Linked DNA regions of Homo sapiens: region 2 is linked to region 1. Evidence: promoter capture Hi-C in 16 types of primary human blood cells and fetal thymus (Javierre and others, 2016). All regions are on one chromosome and are shown on one strand. The core of a region is centred on a gene start or on the middle of the fragment in contact, and the rest is flanking DNA. Distances in the headings are between cores, read along the strand shown. Region 1 holds the start of VTI1B (vesicle transport through interaction with t-SNAREs 1B). Region 2 holds the start of TMEM229B (transmembrane protein 229B).

Evidence for each region. Contacts are between HindIII fragments. The CHiCAGO score rates a contact against its expected background, and 5 or more counts as called.
Region 2: a contact is called between a fragment that was not itself captured here and the fragment with the promoter of VTI1B in region 1, in 1 of 17 cell types (total CD8 T cells). The highest score is 5.2, in total CD8 T cells.

Annotation. Positions count from the first base shown.
Region 1 is chr14:67,669,047-67,676,029 of GRCh38, reverse strand. VTI1B (vesicle transport through interaction with t-SNAREs 1B) reads left to right here and starts at 1,398. Exons shown (of 6, transcript NM_006370.3): 1 at 1,398-1,655. The coding sequence starts at 1,541. It also overlaps a transcript of GPHN not described here. RefSeq lists silencers at 1,074-1,513, 1,614-1,723. The HindIII fragment of the contact is 4,739 bases long and covers 824-5,562 here.
Region 2 is chr14:67,481,748-67,488,743 of GRCh38, reverse strand. TMEM229B (transmembrane protein 229B) reads left to right here and starts at 23. Exons shown (of 3, transcript NM_001348543.2): 1 at 23-236; 2 at 1,572-1,744. It also overlaps a transcript of GPHN not described here. RefSeq lists enhancers at 1-311, 1-448, 612-681. The HindIII fragment of the contact is 2,469 bases long and covers 729-3,197 here.

The sequences.
Region 1 (6,983 bases), core at 149-2,648:
TGCCTCCCGGGTTCAGGCGATTCTCCTGCCTCAGCCTCCCGAGTAGCTGGGGTTACAGGCGCCCACCACCACGCTTGGCTAATTTTTGTGTTTTTAGCAGAGACGGGGGTTTCACCATGTTGGCCAGGCTGGTCTTGAACTCTTGACCTGAAGTGATCCGCCCGCCTCGGCCTCCCAAAGTGCTGGGATGACGCGTGAGCCACCATGCCCGACGTGAAGACAGGAATTTATACCCATGGAGTGCAAGAAGGGACCTTGTAATTTTTAACACGTGACACTTAGTGGCAGATGAGACCTAATGAAGCCAGGCCCACCTTCCACACCAGATTATAAATTCCCCTGGAGCAGAGATTAAATGTTTTATTCACCAACATGCCCAGATCCCTCGCAATGCCTACGCTTGACAAACACCTGTTGTCAACAAGTGCACGAGGCAGCCTAGGAGGAGAATTAGTCTCCACGAGGAGAATTACTCGGGCCTAGCAGCTAGAGTATTTCGAGGTCATCCTAACTGGGTTCCACTTTTGAATTTTTGGTTTTTGGGTTTTTTGTTTTTTTGGAGACAAGATCTCGCTCCACTTGGGAGCAAGGTCTCCCAAAGCTGGAGTGCAGTGGTGGGACCTCAGCCTCCGGGGGTAGCTGGGGCCAAAAGTGCGCGCCACCATGCCCGGTTCTTATTTTGGGTTTCTGGTAGAGCTCTCGCTATTGTGCCCAGGCTGGTCTCGAACTACTGGGTTCAAGCAATCCTCCCACCTCGGCCTCCCAAAGTACTGGGATTACAGGCGCGAGCCACTCGCCCGGCCGGGTTCCACTTCTGAAAGCTTGGGGAGCCGCTGGGCCTTCCAAGAAAAGTGCTCCACCTCCCGACGGCAGGCAGAGCCCCTGGCCCGGCTATCTTTCCAGGGCCGAAAGCTAACAGTCAAGACGCGAAACGAGGAATTCGGGTCAGGGTGGCAAAGCAAAGCGCGATGACAGTGAGGACGACGTCTAGACGCAAACATACATCAAATCGGGCCGAAGCCCGCTGTCGCCGCGCGGGCTGAACCTGGCACCCGGAGCAACGCGCGACCCCGGGACGAGACGCTCTCGTCCGAGCCAAACTACATCCCCCGGCGTGCACTGCAGCGCCCGCCCCTCGCCGGCCGGCGGGGCCCGGGAGGAAGGCGGCCGCGCTGCCAGTCCCGCAGGTCCCCTAGGCCCCTTTCGCTGCGGCCTTTCCCCAACCCGGACCCGGCACTTCTCGGGTTCCGCGACTGCCGATCGCCCCGGCGCGGCACCGCTCCCTCAGGAGTCGCCTAGGCCGCGCAGTCTCCCGACTTCTCGTCAGGCTTTCGCGCCGGCGCTCCAGCAATCACTGGCTGGAGAAGGTGGGCGTTCCGGCTCGAGAGGACCCTGCCGCGGCTCCGGAAGAGCCTCGTCCTGGGCGGCGGTGGTGCGGCGGTCGCCGTTATGGCCACTGGGCTGGGCGGCTGACCGCCGGGCTAGGAAAGGGCCCAGGGCCCCGAATCTCGGTGGCCGCTGCTCCAGCGCGGCCTGCGCCATGGCCTCCTCCGCCGCCTCCTCGGAGCATTTCGAGAAGCTGCACGAGATCTTCCGCGGCCTCCATGAAGACCTACAAGGGGTGCCCGAGCGGCTGCTGGGGACGGCGGGGACCGGTGAGGCGGGGGTGGGCCACGCCGTGGGGAGCGCAGCCCTGCGCGCTTTGGAAGGAAGATTCTCCCACCTTCCTCCCAGACCCGGGCCCGCGTCTCCTCCCTCCGCGTCCTCAGACACGCCCCCTAGGGCTGGCTTGTCCCAGCCCCAGGTCTCCCTGCTGCCACTGAGAGTAAATTGGACCTCGGGATTCAGTTCCCTGGGATCCTTCTATGGCCTTCCACATTTTCTCATCTTTTTTCACTGTGGCAAATAGAGCAGAGGGGCTTTTGCATCTGCGGTCCTGTAATGTAGAGTGGGTTTCTTTCATAGCTGTTTTTGTTTGTTTTATGCATTTAAAAGCACTAGTCTCAAGACAGGTCTAGTTTTCACCAGACTGACAGAGGATCCGTAGCACAGAAAAAGGGTTAAAAACCCAAAGGAGTCATAATTTGGGGGTGTTGGTAAATACCAGTTATTGGAGGGTAGAGAGCTGGCCTTTAAAACCTGATTGTGGCATTTAGATGTGGTCTTGTTTTGAACGTTTTTACAGCTGAGACTGTTTACTACCCCTTAATTTCATGATTCAGGTTGCTACAAGTTCTGTCTGGAGGAGCTAGAGTTTTCCGGCCCTAAATCCATAGGAAAAGCTGCTATAGTTCTTGGCCTCCGGATATATAGAATTTGATGGCAAGGACAAAACTTTGTTTTATTGCTTTTATTTAAGAGTCAGAGCTTGGGTGTTTGCTCAACGAATTACTCAAGGTCATAGGAATTGAATGACTGGTGAGAATGAAATTCATGTATTTAATATATATTTATTGTGAGGCTGCTGTGTGCTAGGTGCTGGTGAATTGTGAGGCACCGTTCTAGGTGCTGGTGAATATTGCAAATTACAGTGAAAAAGATACGAACATCCCCATTCTAGTGGGTAGGTGATAAACAATATATAACTATTAAGAGGCAGTGTTAAAGAATACAGGAAAGTAAATCAGAGTAAAAGAATAGGGGATGGGACTTCAGTTTTATTTTATTATTTATCATTTTTTTTTTTGAGACAGGGTCTCACTCTGTCACCCAGGCTGGAGTGCAGTGGCACGATCTCGGCTCACTGCAACCTCCACTTCCCAGATTGAAGCAATTCTCCTGCCTCAGCCTCTGGAGTAATAGGGATTACAGTTGCGCCACCACCCCTAGCTAATTATTTTTGTATTTTTAGTAGAGACAGGGTTTTGCCATGTTGGCCAGGCTGATCTCTAACTCCTGACCTCAAGTGATCCGCCTTCTTTGGGACTTCAGTTTTAAATAGGGCGGTTGTGAAAGTCCTCTCTGAGGAGATGGCGTTTGAACAGAGACTTAAATGAAGTGAGGGAGTAAACCAGAAATCAGGGAGAAGTGAGTGTCAGAAGGAGGGAATAGCACTGCAAATGCCTTTAAGCAGAAATGAGCTTGGTGTGTTCAGCGAAGAGCAGGAAGTTCCATGTGTTTGGGATGGAGTGAGCAAAGGAGAGCGATAAGCAGGGCCAGATCATGTAGGGCCTTGTGGACCATGGTGAAAGACTTGTGCCTTTTTCTAAATATGATGGGATGCAGTTAAAAGATACTGTGCAGAAGCATTGTGGGATCTGATTTATGTGATTGAAAAGTAGACTGCAGGCAGGGTACGGTGGCTCACACCTGTAATTCCAGCACTTGGGGAAGCCGAGGCGGGCGGATCACTTGAGGTCAGGAGTTCAAGACCAGCCTGGCCAATATGGTGAAACCCCATCTCTACTAAAAATACAAAAATTAGCCGGGCATGGTGTCAGTTGCCTGTAGTCCCAGCTACTCAGGAGGCTGAGGCAGAATTGCTTGAACCCAGGAGGCGGAGGTTGCAGTGAGCCGAGATCATGCCACTGAACTCCAGCCTGGGCAACAGATCAAGACTCTGTATCAAAAAAAAAAAAAAAAGAAAAGAAAAGAAAAAAAAGTAGACTGCAGGCCAGGCATGGTGGCTCACACCTGTAATCCCAGCACTTGGGGAAGCTGAGGCAGGAGTATTGCTGTGTTGAACGATTTTGAGACCAGCCTGGGCAACATGGTGAAACCTCATCTCTACAAAAAATAAAAAAATTAGCCAGGCATGGTGGTGCATGCCTGTAGTCCCAGCTCCTGGGGAGGCTGAGGTGGGAGGATCACTTGGGCCCTGGAGCTGGAGGTTGCAGTGAGCCAAGATCGCACCACTGCACTCTAGCCTGGACCACAGAGCAAGACTCTCCCAAAAAAAAAAAAAAATGTAGACTGCATTTTCAACCTGGCACTGAATTAATTTTTGCAATGCCCATTTCTATAAGTCTAAATAATGCAAAAGAACATTGCTTTGAAAAATAGAAAATTGAATTCATTATTACTATGGTTTGAATGTCCCCCTCTAAAACTTATGTTGACATTTATTTGCTATTTTAATCGCATTAAGAGGTGGGACCCATAAGAAATGATTAGACCATGAGGGCTCCATCCTCAGAGATTAGATTGTTATCCTGAGAGTGGCTTGGTTGTTGAGAGAGTGGGTTAGTTCAGCCCTCTCTTGCTTGCCTGCTCTCTTGATCTGTTGCCCTTCCATCTTCTGCCATGGGGTGACCCATGGGTAGCAAGAAGGCCCTTGAAAGAATCAGCCCTCTCAGCCTTGGGCTTCCCAGCCTCCAGAACTCTGAGAAATACATTTATTTTCTTTATAAATTACCCAGACTCAGCTATTCTGTTATAGCAACATAAAGCTAAGATAGTTACATTCACCTTTGTTGTCTACCCAGCCTTTTTCTCCATCCTGCAAAGAGGACAATCAGAAATATGTGAATTTCTTTTCTTTTTTCTTTCTTTTTTTTGTTTTTTTGAGATAGAGTCTTGCTCTGTCGCCCAGGCTGGAGTGCAGTGGTACAATCTCAGCTCACTGCAACCTCCACCTCCTGGGTTCAAGTGATTCTCATGCCTCAGCCTTCCGAGTAGCTGGGATTACAGGCGCATGCTACCACACCTAGCCAATTTTTGTATTTTTAGTAGACACGGGGTTTCACCATGTTGGCCAGGCTGGTCTCAAACTCCTGACCTCAAGTGATCTGCCCGCCACGGCCTCCCAAAGTGCTAGGATTACAGGTGTGAGCCACTGCGCCCAACCACAAAATACTCTAAGTTGCTGGTAACAGACATAGTTGTTTAATGGATAAGTAAAGAAAATATATACATATCCCTAGAATTATAATAAGTCCAACAACTTTACCTCTTATTCACTACCTCATTCACACTGCTCAATAAATGTTTGTTGAATAAATTGAATTTATCTAAGCAAACACATGGTGCCTCATCTCTGAATCCTCTTTTTCTAGTTCAGAGACCACATCATAAAGTTTTCAGAGCTTTAATGCCCATCATGAATTATTAGGCACAGCATAATGTACATAATACAGTCCTTGCATGTAGCTTATGCTCTGTAATTGAATTCAGTCATTTTTCAATAAACACTGAGAATTATTATGTATCAGCCACTGTCTAGGCTCTGAGGACTTCCAGAGTTCTTACCTTAAAAAGAAACAAACGGCCGGGCACGGTGGCTCATGCTGGTAGTCCCATCACTTTGGGAGGCCTAGGCGGGCGGATCACAAGGTCACGGATGGAGACCATCCTGGTCAACATGGTGAAACCCCATCTCTACTCAAAATACAAAAATTAGCTGGGTGTGGTGGCATGTGCCTGTAGTCCCAGCTACTCAGGAGGCTGAGGCAGGAGAATCGATTAAACCCAGGGGGCAGAGATTGCAGGCGACAGAGCGAGACTCTATCTCAGAAAAAAAAAAAGGTAACAAACCTTACAACCAAGTGTGTGATTAATCCTAAAATAAAGTTCTCTGAGACCATAAAAAGGGCTGGACTTGAGCATGGGGAAGAGGGGGAAGCTTCAAAAAACTTCAAACTGAATATAAGGGATTGAATGGGAGTTTGCTAGATGGGAAATGCGAAGAGGCAACACAGGAGTAAAACATGGAATACTCCCAACTCTGGAGCTTAGAATGTATGTGGGAAAGTAGTAGTAGAGGGGCAGGTGAAACAGCCAGATTGTGAGGGGATCTCAGTGTCACATTGAGACATTTGGACTTGATATGGAAAGTCAGTAAAGGACGTAAAGCAGTTGATTGATGTGGATTTTCTTTTAGAAGGAGGGCATTAATGGCTAGACAGGACAAGAGAGAGCACAAGAATCTGGGTACAGGGGACTGTGTTAAGAGCCTTTTGGGCAGTCACCTTGCTAACGGGAATTTGTTTGACACAGGTTCTCACTCCTGTCTCCCGTCATCCAGGCTGGAGTGCAGTGGCACCATCACTGCTCACTGCAGCCTTGGCTTCCCGGGCTCAGGTGATCCTCCCACCTCAGCCTCCCGAGTAGCTGGGACCACAGGTGCATGGCACCAGGCCTGGCTAATTTTTTGTATTTTTAGTAAGGGTCTCCCATGTTATCCAGGCTGTTCTCGAATTCCTGGGCTTAAGTGATCCACCCACCTCAGCCTCTTAAAGTGCTGGGGTTACAGGGGTGAGCTACAGTTCCCGGCCCAAGAGTTGGTTTTGAGGCAGAAATTAACCAGCCTCAATGGATATGAGGAGTGAGGGAGAAAGGTTCCAGGGTGTCTGCATTTTTTCACTTGGTCAACTGGGTGAATGATGAACTTAAGTAAGAAACATAAGAGGAGAAGCAGAGTTTGGGTTGTGGATGAGAATATCAAAGGTACCTGTAGAACAGAGATCATGACATAATATAGCCTTACAAAATGTTTCTTCTTCTGCCATTAAAAATAACATACGGGGGCCAGGTGTGGTGGCTCGTGCCTGTAATCCCAACATTTTGGGAGGCTGAGGCAGGAGGATTGCATGAGGCCAAGAGTTGGAGACCAGCCTTGGCAACATGGTGAGACCTATCTCTACAAAAAAAAAAAAGCTGAGTAGTGTGGTGCTGCTCACTTGTAATCCCAGCTGCTCAGGAGGCTGAGGCAGGAGGATCACTTGAGTCTAGCAGTTTGAAGTTTTAGTGAGCTGTCATCACATCATTGCACTCCAACCTGGGTGACAGAGCAAGACTCCGTCTCAAAAAAAAAAAAAAAAATTATGAAGAAGTATGTGAATTGAGAGGCCATATAGTATAATATTTAACAGCAAGAATTCAAGAGCCAGATTGCCTGAGTTTAAATTCACCTTCTAGTAGCAGTGTGACCTTGGACAGGTTACTTTAACCCAATTAGTTTTTCCTGCCAAATGGGGATAAATCATAGTATCTACTTCACAGGGTTTTTGTGAGGAGTAAATGAGTTAATATATGTAAAGTCCTTA
Region 2 (6,996 bases), core at 714-3,213, 190 kb after region 1:
CTTTGGTTTCTGTTTCTGTTTTAGTTCTGACTTGTGCCGTGGATGTGGCTGAGGGCCTAGGGTGGGGAGAAGTCTCCACAGGTGGGATTGAACTCCCCAGGCACATGGTCCTTGTGGTGCTGGTGGAGAGAGAGTCCCAGAGGGTTCGGACATGCTCCGTTAAAACCTTTTCCTCAAGGTGATAGGTACGTGTCAAGGTGACCCCTGTCCGCCATCCGGCAGGCTGGAAGAAGCCGGTAAGATGGACAGATCAGGGAGGGTTGGAGGGTCCCGTTTGTGAAGGAGCTGGGGAGGGGGAGGCAAGGCTGAGCACAGCAGCCCACTGTGATGCTCTCAGTGCAGAGGCCCCGGGGGGAGACCCAGGGGGGCACCCCCCAAAACCACACCATACAGTGAGTTTCAGTTCCCCCACTCCTGCCCTTTCACTTCTCCTCGGCTGCCTGGCTGCCTCACAGGTTGTCAGCTTGAGCAAGGGCCCAAGCGGCCTCTACTCAGAGACCCTGGTGGTCAGAGGGGAGTGGGGAAGGTGGACATGGGCATCAGCACAGACCAGCACCTCTGGTCCATCCTGCCTGGTCATCCACAGGGGAGTGCCAGCTCCCACCCCCAGCCACATACTGTTCTCAGCTTCTGAGTGGCTGGGCTGTCCCAGAGGGCCATGCTGGGCCTGAGTGCTGTCCTTGGGCATATGCAGATGGTGTTGTATCCAGGGGGTTTTCAGGGAAGCTTTAGCACTTTCATATTAAAACAAAAAATGTTGGAATCTCCATTAAATAGTCAAGTCTTAGGGATAGTAGTAAAAACATGGCTGTACATGGCTGGCCAGGCACAGTGGCTCACGCCTATAATCCTAGCACTTTGGGAGGCTGAGGTGGGAGGGTTGGCCAAGAGCTTGAGACCAGCCTGGTCAACATAGCAAGACCCGTCTCTACTTGATTTTTTTTTTTAAAGTACATGGCAAAGGGCATTATAAAGTAAGATTTGTATTAGCTTGTAGCTGGTTACTGATGTTCATAGGAAGGGCCTCAACCATAATAATGGTGAAATAATAAAATGAGATGAATAAATATTAGAGAGGTAGAATAGTACGTAGAAAGGTTTAGCACACATTTTGTTTTTCTGCACGAGTGGTTGTTCTCTGCTTTCAAAGTGCTGAAACGAATGTCCTACATTGTCTGCCTTCCATGAGGTTCTGACCGCCCTTGAGAACAGATGTACCCACTACAGGGTGAAGGTGAGAATGTAATTTGAAGCTGAATGAGAATGGAGCTGGATTCTAAAATTATATCCCCTCTCAGATTCACAAGTGTTCACACATTTAGGCAAGAAGCCCTAAGTCCTAACCCTGGACATGTGGATTGTCCAGGACCATCCCAGACTTTTGTGGCTGGATTAATCAGACCTGAGCAAACTGGATGCAAAGAGGAGGGGGTAGGTTCCGGGAAGGGGCCCTGGTGGCCAGGGTGGGATGAGTGTCTGGTGCTGAGCCCAGAGCCCAGGCCCTTGCAATGTTTTTCTTGGATCTGCTGGGGGCAGTTTAAGCTAATAAAAGCCTCCTCTTTTATTCCCAGGGACACATGGAAGCTGCCAGCCCCCCAGCCAAGGATCAGCTGAGCCCTAGGGCTGATGCTTGCCTACGTTGCTGAGAATGGCACTGAGGCCCAGCCAACAAAGGTTAACCCAGGACACTCCTGGACAGTGATCCTGATGTCTGTTGTGAGCTGCACACTCAAGGGTGTGATAAGTGAGTATGTTACAAGCACCCAGGGGATCACCAGCCCAGCGATCCTGCCTGCTCGGCACCTCATCAGCATGGGCACGAGTCTGGAGGTTCTAGTTCTGAGTCTGTTCCCCATCCAAGGTCCTGTCACAGGGCAATGGGAGGGGAATGTCAAGCAATATTGGGCCATCACATGCGGGAGCCGTCTTATGGCCACATGGCCTCTAAAATCCAGGCCAGACCCAGTGTATTAGTTTGTTTTCGTGCTGCTGATAAAGACATACGTAAGAGTGGAAAATGTATACAGAAAAAGAGGGTTAATTCCACGTGTCTGGGGAAGCCTCACAATCATGGTGGAAGGCAAGGGGAAGCAAGTCACATATTACAAGGTTGGTAGCAAGCAGAAAGAGAGCTTGTGCAGGGAAACTCTCCCTTATAAAACCATCAGATCAGCCGGGCACTGTGGCTCACGCCTGTAATCCCAGCACTTTGGGAGGCCGAGGTGGGTGGATCGCAAGGTCAACAGATTGAGACCATCCTGGCCAACATGGTGAAACCCCATCTGTACTAAAAATACAAAAATTAGCTGGGCATTGTGGCATGCACCTGTGGTCCCAGCTATTCAGGAGGCTGAGGCAGGAGAATCGCTTGAACCTGGGAGGCAGAGGTTGCAGTGAGCCAAGATCGTGCCATTGCACCCCAGCCTGGCAACAGAGCAAGACTCTGTCTCAAAACAAAACAAAACAAAAACCCATCAGATCTCATGAGATTTATTCACTATCACAAGAACAGCATGAGAAAGACCTGGCCCCATGATTCAATTACCTCCCACCCAGTTCCTCCCACAACATGGTGGAAATTCAAGATGAGATTTGGGTGAGGACACAGCCAAACCATATCATTCAGATTGTCTGGCGTGAGTGAAGCGAGCACTCACACCTGGGAAACAGCATCTACTTTGGCCGTCAGGCTTCAGATCTGTGCAGTGAGGACCATGCATCACCTGGGACTGGACTCTGCCCAGAAGCCATGAGCAATGCATGTGCTGCTGGTCTAGGAGGCCTGGAGTAGGGCATCCAGGGCCCTGGGAGGTGGGGGGATTTGTGAGCCTTAGCTGCCATAAGAGTGACCACCAGGGGATCTGGAGGAGCATGTCCTCTTGCTTTTGTCACATATCAGCAGCAGCATCTCCTCCTCAGCGAGACAAGCTCGAGGTAGGGTGAGAGGCTCCTAACTGCACAGCCCTGCCTGTCCTCACAGGCCTTTCTTTCCAGCCTCAGCCCCTGGCTTTTCCTTGATGATGCCTTAAAAAATGACAATTGGCTGCTTTCCCAACCCCCAGAGGCCTGTCTGGCCTGAAGGCTGTTATGTCTGTGCAGGGCCCGTAGCCTGGTGGGATCAGAGGCCTGCAGGAAGGAAGCTCCCCAGAAGGCATGGCAGGCAGAGCTGGGCTTTTGCAATCTTGAACAGACAAGCTTTTTTTGGAGTTCCTAGGCTGGTCCATGGGAACCCAGAGCTTCAGATTCCATGCAGGAATTTGCAGGGAGTAGAAAAGGGGTAATCAGGTCTTTTTCCACTTTAGGTAGATCTTGACTCTCCTAGTTGACAGTTTATAATTCAGGGCCAGAATCTGTTTTCCACTCAGCCTGGGCTTACAAAGTCAGTTTGACTGGAGAGTTTCTCAGGAAGTGTGTTCTTGAGTTGATTTGTAGCCAGGGTGGTGTGAGCAAGCCTAGACTGTAGGAGGGGAGTTGGGGGTAAAGAGATGGCCATGGGTGCCTCTGTGGGAACGTCGTTCCTCAGATGGGAGGCACATCTCCCCAGAGCAATTTATGCCATCAGCCTTAAGGCTGTTGTACCGTTTGGTTCAGTGATTCTCCTTCTGGAATTATCCATTAAGATATATTATTAGGAAATAGTACCAGAGAAGAAAAGGGCTGAATTCTTCCATTACAGGCATTAAAGGTAATTCTCGTTATATCATCTGTAGTAGTAGAAATGGGAAACAACTGTTCCCTTTGGACATCTAGGTTAAGTAAATTACAGTTTTCCGCTTGCTGGAATATTACACAGCCATTATAATAATGAGCACAGAGGCTATATAACAACTTGGAAAAACAGTTATGACAAGTAAAAATGGCAGGTTGCAGAATAAGTATATTATGGTGACTTGTAAAATACACACATAGGAAAATATTGCAAAGGAGAAATGGTAATCGCTGTTAGTTCAGAATTATGAGTGCTTTTTCTTTTTTTTTCTTTATTAGAAATGAGGTCTCACTATGTTGCCCAGGCTGGTCTCAAACTCCTGGGCTCAAGCAGTCCTCCCGCCTCAGCCTCCCAAAATGCTGGGATTACAGGTGTGAGCCCCCATGCCCGGCCTATGAATGCTTCTTCTATGATGCATGGATTGGCTTTTTAAAAAATAAAATTGAATCCGGATGACTACACAACATACCATTAATAGTGACTTTCTCTAAGATGTGTGATTACAGGGAACTTTTGCTTTCTATGTCATTCTGTAATGTTTAAATTTCAGCTGTGAGCACATGTTGCTTTTATAATTAGAAAAAAAATTAAATGCTAGAATTAAATGTTTTAGAAGGCTATATTTCTCAAGAAAGGAGGGAAGAGAGACCGAGGCAGCTAGCTGTTTATACCTGCCCTCATCAGTGTTTAAGGGCCTGGGCCTGTTTGGGCCCACTCATCCATCCATTCATTCCACAAGTATTACTAGGTATTATTGCCAGGCACCACTCTAGGCACTGACTAAACAGCAGTGAACAAGACAGTGCCCCTGCTCTCATGAAGTTTTCATTCTAGTTGAGGAGAGACAGACCATAAATAAGTAGCAACATATCAGAAAGTGAAAGTGCTATGTAGAAAATAAAATGGAATGATGTGAGTGACAGAGAGGCTATTTTGGACTGGGGATCAAAAGTCCCTGAGATATGACAGCTCAGCTGAGATCTGAATGGTAACAGCAAGGCAGCCACATACAGGTCTGGGATGCCAGCCTGCCAGTCCCCCGTGCAGGGCATCCTTCGCTTTCTGAGCCCCAGGGACCTCTGTGCCAGAACTGACTCCATCCCCCAAGCCCACTCACCCTGCCCTGCCTCCTGCTGCGGTTTGCTTGGGATCTGAGGCCCCCTGAAATCCTCTGTGTTCGGACCGCTCCTCCTGACATGCTGGCTGTTGCTCCTCTGGGCAGCTGGCCCCTGCTCTTGGCTGGTGTCTCCATGGCAGGGCTGGGCCGGGCCATCTGAGACTCCCAGGAGCACTGGTGTGGGCTGGCAGTCAGGGGGCCTCTGGGTTGTGTGTGTCCTGGTGAGGGGCCTTTGAATGGCGCATGCCTTGGGGCCTGAGGGTTGGTTGCTGTCATGGTCCTGTGACTGTCAGCTTTGACCCTGGAGGGCCTCTGTGTGGATCCCGAGGAACAGGCTGGGAGCCTTTAGGAACTCTGACACCCAGTTGGGAAGTTTGTTAATGAACCACCTAGAAGTTCACAACCTTCTCCTTGCTTCCTGTTGTCTCTCCACATACCATCCCAGCCTTCCAGAAGCAGGAACTCAGAAAATGGTAGTGCCCTCAGAGGAGCCTGCAGTCAGCCTCGGGGGCAGTGCAGTGTGCTGATTAGGAGCAAAGACTCTGGAACCAGATTTGTGGGGTTTGAATCCCAGCCTTGCCTTTTATAGTTATTAGAATGTAGGCTCGGCCAGGTGTGGTGACTCGTGCCTATAATCCCAGCACTTTGGGAGGCCGAGGCAGGCAGATCACTTGAGGTCAGGAGTTCAAGACCAGCCTGGCCAACATGGTGAAACCTCGTCTTTACTAAAAATACAAAAATTAGCTGGGTGTGGTGGCAGGAACCTATAATCCCAGCCTCTTGGGAGGCTGAGGCATGAGAATTGCTTGAACCCGGGCGACAGAGGTTGCAGTGAGCCAAGTTCACACCACTGCACTACAGCCTGGGTGACAAAGTGAGACTCCATCTAAAAAAACAAAAAACAAACAAAAAAAGAACGTAGCCTCTTTCTGCCTCACTTTCCCCATCTGTAAAATGGGCTTGAGAATTTTTTGAGTTAATACATGGAAATACTGAGAAGAGCACCTGGTTATTATTATTACTGTGACTTGGGAGGTGGAGGGAGGACTTCATCAAGGCCTGCAGTATCACTAATCCCAGGGGCTTTCCTTGGGGGGCACCCACAGCAAGAGGGTGGAAGTCTGCAGCATGTGCACCAGCCAGTGGCTACAGGAGTTTCCCTCCACTTGCTTCCCTTCTGGCCCTGGGCAAGCCCTATTTTCCTCCCTGCTAACTTGATGACAACAGGGGAAGTTCAGGGAGGTTTCTGCCCTTTCCTCATTGAAGCCACTTATCTTCAGCACAGAGCCGCCCAAGGGCTCCTGAAGCTGTCCCCCGCTGCGTTGCCTCAGGGGTCTCCTAGAAGGGCTGTGGGTCTCCCCAGAACATGGAACTGTAGTGATGGGGGTGGCTGGGGATGGGGAGTGAAGCTTGGGAAGTGAGTGGAGTGAAAGCGGAAGGCCTTCCCAGCCCGGTTGCATGGGAGGGGAATCCCAATTTTCTGGCCAGATGCTTCTCTGGACAAAAATTCCCAGAGTCACTGTGTTGTGGCACCTTAGCCCCCTGAAACAAGATGGGAGTTTTTGACAAAACCAAGGGCAGTTATTCCATCTGGTTTTGCCTTCAGCCTGTCTTAGACTTTTATGGCAGCCTCTTTACCCCTCTCAACTGCTGGCCATGTCCCCTGCCACCCTGTGGAACAGCAGGCTCGGAGAGCAGCCGGTGAGATGCTCTTAGTGAACAGGGCTCTGAAAGCCAGATCCCCTTCCCCTTCCCCATCACCTGTTCCCTTGAAGGGGTAGTTCCTAGACCTCACAAGTCACCTTGAGTCCTGGCCCTTCGATGGGACTCTGTTTGCCCAGGCCCTTTCATCAGGTATGAGGACTCTCGGATTTGAATGTTGTTCAATGAAACCCTGCTTGTGAAGCTATCCTTTGCTCTCCAAACTCTGTCCTCCTGCATTCAACCTTGCTCACACTCTCCTCCTCTTCAATCCACCCTGAATTTCTGTTCCTGGGCTGTCCTATCTTCATGTCACAGGTCTCAGGACAGTTTTGTTTGTCACCAGGAGAAAGAAGCCAAGGTCCCCTGAGCTGCCGGTTCTCCCTGCAGCAGGCTTTCCCAGGGCTCTGATCCCAGGGCTGAGCAAGGAGCTAGTGGAAGGAGCCTAAGGATATAGGGAGTCGGGTGG